Regions from separate parts of the Homo sapiens genome. Here region 1 is linked to region 2. The links are contacts of gene promoters, found by promoter capture Hi-C in blood cells and fetal thymus (Javierre and others, 2016). All regions are on one chromosome and are shown on one strand. Each heading gives the region's core, a stretch centred on a gene start or on the middle of the fragment in contact. The rest is flanking DNA. Distances are from core to core; before and after follow the strand shown.

Evidence for each region. The method cuts DNA at HindIII sites, captures the fragments that hold promoters and counts their contacts. A CHiCAGO score of 5 or more calls a contact.
Region 1: a contact is called between a fragment that was not itself captured here and the fragment with the promoter of CD163 in region 2, in 1 of 17 cell types (total CD4 T cells). The highest score is 5.2, in total CD4 T cells.

Annotation. Positions count from the first base shown.
Region 1 is chr12:7,261,541-7,265,943 of GRCh38, reverse strand. No RefSeq gene overlaps it. Among named protein-coding and RNA genes, the nearest start is that of ACSM4, 40 kb to the left of the region's middle. The HindIII fragment of the contact is 3,417 bases long and covers 1-3,345 here.
Region 2 is chr12:7,501,415-7,506,366 of GRCh38, reverse strand. CD163 (CD163 molecule) reads left to right here and starts at 2,590. Exons shown (of 17, transcript NM_203416.4): 1 at 2,590-2,722; 2 at 3,803-3,889; 3 at 4,905-4,952. The coding sequence starts at 2,677. The HindIII fragment of the contact is 3,696 bases long and covers 1-2,731 here.

The DNA.
Region 1 (4,403 bases), core at 388-2,887, 240 kb after region 2:
CCATTTCGCTAAAGAGTTCTGGTTTCCTTTAGTGAGAAATAGTATTTGACAATCAGTAAATCAACCATTATTTGCTGTTGAGCTTTACTAATATAAGAATGACTAACCACATTAGGCCTTGTATAGTCTTAGACTAGTAACTAACATTGTTGGCCCACAGTGCACAGTACCAGAAAGGAGCCGTGAGGCAAGACAGGAAGCTGAACAGACCTCCCTCCTTTGTGACTTAACATTATGTGTCTGGATCAATCTATATTTGGTTGAAACCCAGGATTATTTACTACTCAAATATTTACTAATTAATGTACTTTGTATCACACTCAGTGAAGAGTTTAGAGGTACACAAGGTACAGATACATAACAGCACACAGTTATTGGAATAAAGGAAATGGGAAAGTGTTGGAGGCCAAAAGAATGAGGGTCATGACCAACTCAGTATACCACTGGAGGCTATATGAGCAAATAGCAAACTGTTCTCATGAAAGCGGGAGTTGGCAAACTGGCAAACTGCATCTGCTGCCAGAAGGAATGCTGAGGCAGTCACGCCCCAAGCGCAGTGTTCCTTGTGGTTATCTATAGGAATATCTGAAGCCTGTAGTATAAAAAAAGCAATTAGGTGAACCTGTGATAAATCAAGCAGCTGACCAACCATTACCTTTCCTCCCTGTTGATTCTACGTAATAAATACAAAGGGCTGTAGAAGCTCAGGGCCCTTGCTCACTAGAAACAAGGAGCCCCCCACCCCTTCTTTTAAAACAGATCTTTTGTCTTTGTCTTCATTTCTGCATTCGTCCTCCTTCGTTCAGTCCCATAGTAACCGTCACAGGAAGGGGCTGTCACTCTGTCTTTGTCCCCTTAGGAGCTGATGGCACATACATTAGACAATAGCTAAACATGAGTTGCAGTATTTTCTATGCAGACAGACCAGTGAGTCAAAGATGGTGCTACCATAGACTCCAACCTCTACCTCCTGAGACTTCTGGCCTGAGAGGATAATTGCCTTAGGGAGTCTGCTCTTAAACAGTACTCAGATCTTCAGAGGTTTTCAAGAAGATGAAGGGATTCAGATGCCAGATGTGGTGATCAAAACATGAATTCCATTTCTTCCTCTAGGCCAGTGGGCAGAACCCCAGGTGCAGCCAGAAGAAGAAAGAGCTGTTGTTTCCTATGAATGGAAATCAGAAACCAGTATTTAAGGGTTTAATCCAAATTAATGATCTGCATTTCAGGGCCCCAGATGGTGTAGGTTGGATTACCCCATATATTGCTTCAGACTTTACCCTGTCAGTAAGTGGGGGGTGATGGGCTTGTCACATTTCTTATTTATTCAGCTGGATGAACAGATCATGAGAAATGGGGAAAGTCTATACTGGAACAATTAAATGTTTTTAGAGCCATGTCATTATCTTCCCTCACGCCATTGGAATATAAACTCTATAAAAAGGGAGATTTTTGTCTGTTCTGTTCACTATTCTATTTTTTGCACTTTGGACAATGCCTGGAACATAGTAGCTTTTTTATTTGTTAAATAAATTAATATATTTCTCCCAGAGCAACATCAACATGTGTGGGCTCTTCTTTAGGGACCTTCCTTTTGCCCTTGCTTGGCCCACATATGCATCTTTCTCCAAGGGAGGTATTTGTGGTCTGGATGTGGCTATTCTGGAGTTTCTCATTCATTAATTACCTTGTCAGATTGAACAACTGACATCCTTTGTACTGAAGAAATATCTACAGGAATGTTTTCTGCTGATGGACTTAGAGTTTTCCACTTTTAATAGATTTATTAGCAACAAAATAAAGCACATACACAACACACACACACACTTTTGGGCATGTGTGATGCATAAGTAGAGCTGGTAATTTGTCATCTCTAGACAAACTCAGAGAGGAAGGATGCAGTTTGTATCAGTCAGGATGAACTACGCTATGCTACATAATAAAGAATCCCCCAAATCTCCGTGGTCTATAACATCACAATCTTTTGCTCTCACTACTTGTTCAGCATGGGTTGGCTGAGAGATCTTCTGTGACCTGGCTGATAGAACAACCATTATCTGAAGGATCGCCCATCATAAGTGTGGGAAAGGAAGCAATTATGTGCTCCAGCCTAGACATGGTATACATCATTCCAGCTCATAATTCATTGGCCAGAGCTTGTCACAAGGCCCAAGTGGAAATTGTAGTACTATCTGGGGGGTTGATATGCTTTGGATCTGTGTCCCCACCAAATCTCATGTTGAATTATAATTCTCAGTGTTGGAAATGGGGCCTGGTGGGAGGTGATTGGATCATGGGGGCAGATTGGATCATGGGTGCTGATAGCCAGTGAGTTATCATGAGATCTGGTTATTTAAAAGTGTGTAAAGTATGTAGCACCTTCTCCCATCTCTCTTCCTCCTGCTCCGGCTATGTGAAGTGCTGGCTGCCCCTTTGCCTTCTGTCATGATTGTAAGTTTCCTGAGGTCCCCCAGGCAGCAGAAGCTGCTATGCTTCCTGTACAGCCTGCAGAACCATGAGCCAATTAAACCTCTTTTCTGTATAAATTACCCAGTTACCCAGTCTCAGATATTTATTTTTCTTTCTTTTTTTTCAGGTATTTCTTTATAACAATAAGAGAATGGACTAATACAGGGGTGGATAGCTGGGTAATAACTACCACAGTTGTTTTACCACAGTGTTCTAGATTGATTTTATTTCTGGAAGTTTCTTTCTTTCTCTTTCTTTCTTTCTTTCTTTCAACTTTGTTTCTTTCCTCCTTTTTTTCTTTGCCAATCTCTGGGAAATCATTTTTTCTCTGAGACAGTTTTTCACACTATTGCCCAGGCTGGAGTGTAATGGTGCCATTGTGGTTCACTGCAGCCTCAACCTCCAGAGCTCAGGTGATCCTCTCACACCGGCCTCCTGAGTGTCTGGGACTAAGGACATGTGCCTCCATGGCCGGCTGGTGGTAGTTTTTCATAACAGAACCCAAGAGCACTTTCCTAGAGAGCAGTAGTTTAAATATTAGACTGGCCATTTTGTAACCTCAGCAAACTAGGTCTTACAGCAGCAATGATCATAGACTTCGAATCAGAGAGACGCACCTCTGCTACTTAATAGTTGTGTGGCATTACATAAGACACTAAATCTCTCCAAGATGAGTACTGTCATCTCTAAATTGGGTCTTACTCACAGATAAGATGAAATTGTTATGAAGATACTAGACCATCTAGTGAATTGCTTAGTATACAATATCTGGTACATATTACCAATTCAATACATGTTAGTTAGCTTGGAAGATAGAAAGTCTTACATTTTATTAGTTGGTGTTTCTTGAGCCAAGTTTTCTTGGCAGGTAAAGCTTTTATGTTCTCAGGAGGTCTGGCAATTAAGATTGCTCAAATTTCTCTGTGGGGGAATGTTATTTGAAATGATTCTTCTGTTTACCAGGTTCAACTTACATTAATTCTCTGCTTCCACACACAGTCTTTCACCTATATTCTCTTTACTACAGAATATCTGGAAGTCTCTTCTTTTTAAAAAATTTTCTGAAATATATATATGTGTATATTTGTGTGTATATATACCTCTTTTCTGTATAAAGTACCCAGTTACCCAGTCTCAGGTATTTATTTTTCTTTCTTTTTTTTCAGGTATTTCTTTTTTTTTTTTTTTTTTTTTTTTTTTTGAGACAGAGTCTCGCTCTGTTGCCCAGGCTGGAGTGCAGTGGCAGAATCTCAGCTCACTGCAACCTCCACCTCCCCGGTTCAAGCAATTTTCATTCCTCAGCCTCCTGAATAGCTGGGATTGCAGGTGCGCCCCATCATGCCTGGCTAATTTTTATATTTTTAGTAGAGATAGGGTTCCACCATGTTGGCCAGACTGGTCTCGAACTCCTGGCCTCAAGTGATGTGCCTGCCATGACCTCCCAAAGTGCTAGAAGTCTCAATATTAGTCTCAACCTTGGATATCCATCAGAATCCCCAGGGCATTTTTCAAAAGATCTATGCCTGAGCCCCACCTCAGACCAATTAAATCAGTTTCTCTGGGAGTGGGGACCCAGTCATCCATATTTTTAAAGCTCCTCTGGGGATTCTGGTGAGCAGCGAGGACTGAGAACTGCTGCTCTACATGTCTGGTTTTTGCCCATGTCTCTAGCCTCATCTCCTGCCACTGTCCTCCCTGTGCTCATCACGCTTTTTTTTTTGCTGTTCATTGAACATGCCAAGGTGGCTCCTACTCCAGAACCTTGACATTCACTGTTCCCTCAGCCTAAGTGTGTTGCTTCAGATTTCCATATAACTGATTCTTGTTCATGAGGTCTCAACTCAAATGTCATGTCTTCAGAATTTCACTCCACTACCCATTCTAAAGTAGCACTCCTCATCTGGTTTTACTTGAGCTATTTGCTGATTAATCTG
Region 2 (4,952 bases), core at 1,341-3,840:
TACAGTAACCAAAACAGCATGGTACTGGTACCAAAACAGAGATATAGATCAATGGAACAGAACAGAGCCCTCAGAAATAATGCCGCATATCTACAACCATCTGATCTTTGACAAACCTGACAAAAACAAGCAATGGGGAAAGGATTCCCTATTTAATAAATGTTGCTGGGAAAACTGGCTAGCCATATGTAGAAAGCTGAAACTGGATCCCTTCCTTACACCTTATACAAAAATTAATTCAAGATGGATTAAAGACTTACATGTTAGACCTAAAACCATAAAAACCCTAGAAGAAAACCTAGGCAATACCATTCAGGACATAGGCATGGGCAAGGACTTCATATCTAAAACACCAAAAGCAATGGCAACAAAAGCCAAAATAGACAAATGGGATCTAATTAAACTAAAGAGCTTCTGCACAGCAAAAGAAACTACCATCAGAGTGAACAGGAAATCTACAAAATGGGAGAAAATTTTCGCAACCTACTCATCTGACAAAGGGTTAATATCCAGAATCTACAATGACCTCAAACAAATTTACAAGAAAAAAACAAACAACCCCATCAAAAATTGGCGAAGGATATGAACAGATACTTCTCAAAAGAAGACATTTATGCAGCCAAAAAACACATGAAAAAATGCTCATCATCACTGGCCATCAGAGAAATGCAAACCAAAACCACAACGAGATACCATCTCACACCAGTTAGAATGGTGATCATTAAAAAGTCAGGAAACAATAGGTGCTGGAGAGGATGTGGAGAAATAGGCATGCTTTTACACTGTTGGTGGGACTGTAAACTAATTCAACCATTGTGGAAGTCAGTGTGGCAATTCCTCAGGGATCTAGAACTAGAAATACCATTTGACCCAGCCATCCCATTTCTGGGTATATACCCAAAGGATTATAAATCATGCTGCTATAAAGACACATGCACACGTACGTTTATAGCGGCACTACTCGCAATAGCAAAGACTTGGAACCAACCCAAATGTCCATCAATGATAGACTGGATTAAGAAAATGTGGCACATATATACCATGGAATACTATGCAGCCATAAAAAATGATGAGTTCATGTCCTTTGTAGGGACATGGATGAAACTGGAAACCATCATTCTCAGCAAACCATCGCAAGGACAAAAAACCAAACACCACATGTTCTCACTCATAGGTGGGAATTGAACAATGAGAACACATGGACACAGGAAGGGGAACATCCCACTCCAGGGACGGTTGTGGGGTCAGGGGAGGGGGGAGGGATAACATTAGGAGATATACCTAATGCTAAATGACGAGTTAATGGGTGCAGCACACCAGCATTGCACATGTATACATACGTAACAAACCTGCATGTTGTGCACATGTATCCTAAAACTTAAAGTATAATAATAATTTAAAAAAAGGAAAAAAATATATATATAATTGACAACCCTCATAAGTACAGGCTATCATGAGTGCATATTTTCTGGGGTCTTTCAGCGTTAGAGTTATTTCTCCTAGTGAAGGGAGGTTTAACTGAGAAATAAAGTATACGTGAGTGAGAGTTATCTTAGAGAAAGGTACGGGTAGGGAGGCAGTAAACACAGAAGGAACAATATGTATGACATACCATGAGGCAGGGAGAGATTTGGCATGCCTGAGAAGTGGAAGAAAACTGGGGTGCCTTTGTTGACTGGGTTCTAGTGAATGTCTCTCTGGAAGGCTGGAGTTGCTCTTTAATTCCCCATTTCAGGCCCATCACTAACACCTGACAATATGTATGCCATGATGAACTATTAGTAGTTCTTTTGAGCTTATATGTTTTTATATACAAATATTCATTTGTATGTGCTATTTTTTATGCCTTAAACTCCTTTATCATTTGTCCCTTTGGCAATGTTTTTCTCATCTTTTAGGACACAATTTAAGCCTGTCCTCAGAGAAAATAGTTTTCTGACTGTTCATTCCTTTCTCTCAATAGATAGGACTACTTTGTCCATTATTTTTAACACTGCACTTTAGCTTTATGTTCATTGTTGTTATCATATGTGTTTCTCTTACTTGAATCTGAGTTATATAGAGCTAAAATCATGTGTTGCTAATTTTTGTTTCACCATTTGTAATATCAGTAATAGTCATGGCTAATTCTCTTGGTGTACTTCATCCCATTAGAAAAGAAATGACAAATGCTGTGTCTCAACAACTTACACAAAATTACTCATTAGACACATTTGATTATGGAAATAAAATTAAAAGTGCATATGATAAAATGTTATTTAATTATGTTTTGCCTGTTTTGCTTTAGTTTTTTACATAATTTTTCTACATGACAATTAGTAATTTTTTGTGTCTTATATATTTGTCCAAAATGAAGTTCAAAAATGTAAAATATTTAATTCAGCAACAGCAGCATATGAGTTAGTATTTCCTCTAATTTTTCGAAATCTGTGGGAAGTGTTTCCCAATTTCCTTTGGTTGTTTCATGTGCTATATTGAAGAAAACATGAGTATGAAATGGAACCTCAGCTCTTTCAATGACTTCCCTTTTTGAGTTGACTCCGCCTCCATATGTAGCCTTTTCATTTTCATGAAAGTGAAGTGATTTTTAGAATTCTTAGTTGTTTTCTTTAGAAGAACATTTCTAGGGAATAATACAAGAAGATTTAGGAATCATTGAAGTTATAAATCTTTGGAATGAGCAAACTCAGAATGGTGCTACTTGAAGACTCTGGATCTGCTGGTAAAAGCTTCTCATTTATTCTACATTTCCCCTTTAATGGGGTATGTAATTATTATGACAGTCAATGGATGTGATTTAAAAGTGATTGGCATCAGGAGAGTAAGGAGTGGAAAAAGGACATAGGCTTATATGGCAGCACCTTTGATCTGCCATAGATTCAAAATTGAAGATGTGATATGGGAATCAGAGTCGGCATTAATTTTGTAAAACTGCTGAGGTGAAATTAAGTCAGGAACTAAAGTTAACTGAAATGTACTGAGTATGAAAAAATAGTTGTTAGAAAAGATAGAATATGCAGAAAGGAATATTGATAGAGAGTTAATTACATAAAGAAAGTTATCTACTCTGATAAGTGAGTTATCTATTTTAAGACTTATTTGGACATGTTAAAATCATTTAGCATTTTTAGTTTTAAATTAGTGTTGGGTTAGAGTAACGAGAAGATATGAGAGTAATAACAGCATTAAAGAGTGTATTATGTGATAAGGATACAGGTAGAGATGACAAGATTTAATATTTGAGTTTTTCAGATATGGATATCATCACTTAGGTATTGTTCTGCTAGCTACTATTTGGCAAGCATCAAGCCAGGTACTGGTGAAATTATGGTGAACATGATAGATATAATTCGTTTACTCATGGAACTTATCCTCTATCAGTGCGGCTAGGTAGTCTTAAAGATGGGGGCATCCATAATTGAATATCAAGGTGGTTAGGGAATAGAGAAATCTCAGGATACCTTCCCTGTGCCTGCTGGGAGAATTGTCCACTACTAAGTTTCATTGATGTTGTTTCCATTTTCCAGGTTTTAAGGGTTGACCTTGCAATTCTCGTTTCCACCACCAACCTTCTGCTAATCCGTCACCTCTAGGTTGCCTATAAACATGAACATTTTCAAAACCATTTCACTGAAACTATATGAGCCTGGGTATGAATGTTTTCTGCCTGCCTTGCAATTTAGAATGAAGAGTTTTCTGTCTTGGTTTGAGCTTCTTTGTTAATTAACCTCTGAAACCATCTATCTTCTCCAAAGTCTCTTTTTGGGAAGATGCTACTTTTGCCCTCTTTTCTTTTTCACAGACTTCAGAAGACATTTTGTCAACTTGAGTCCCTTCACCATTACTGTGGTCTTACTTCTCAGTGCCTGTTTTGTCACCAGTTCTCTTGGTGAGTACTTTGTCAAATTTACTTACAGCCTTAGCCCACTCTGACAAGAACAGTTAAAAGGCAAACAATTTTTCTGAAGGCCAAGTAGCATCTAAAAACTAGGTGACATGCTCCATGTATTCAAAGGATCAGATATTATTAAAAGCACACAATAAAAATCTAACCAAAATATTAGCATGGTTCCTCACCAAATGAAATAAACTCACAGGAGAGAAATGAATTTTACTTAAAGATTAGAAATAATGTTGAACTGAAAAATAGGAAAGAATACAAAGGAGGAGAAACTTCAGAATCATTAAAACAAAAGTGAATTTGGGAAACACATTAGTAAATTCAAATGCCAAAATTTATCTAAAAATGTATTGAGAGATGCCAGGTTGGTGGGACCAGATTCCTACATAAAGCTAAAATAATGCCAAGGAGGCAACTGAGATCATCTATCATCTGGGGATGGGAAGAGAGTACAAAGAGGTTTATTTTATGGTAGAAAATAGCAGAAAATATCTCCATCTTAATTTTAGATAAGTTTCAGTCTAGCGTTTTTAAGATTTATGCTATTTTACATATACGTATGAAATAAGAGTTAAATTTCTTACAACTAGTCTTTTCATCTTCATAAATTCTCTATCAGCCTTCTTTCTATCGACCTTAGGATTTTGGAGAAATGTAAAAAGTTCATCCCCATAACGTTTTGTAGCATCTTATTTAACTCGAAAATGCTTCACAGGAATTATATAAATTGCCACTATTAAGGCTATCCAGCCATAAAATAAAGCTATTAAACACTATTGTGTTACTTACCTTTACTGGTCATATAGCACTGCTTAATTTGAAACCAGTGATACTGATACTTATATTTGAATGACTGTGAAATAACATTCTTCTGTTTTACCATGGATAGGACTAGGATGGTTCTCAAATCTGAGTTTGAAGGATAAATAAGTAATGTAAAAAAATAATTTTCTACTTGCTCTTTGCGACCTTGGCCAATTACTGTCTTAATCCATTGTTGCAGGAGGAACAGACAAGGAGCTGAGGCTAGTGGATGGTGAAAACAAGTGTA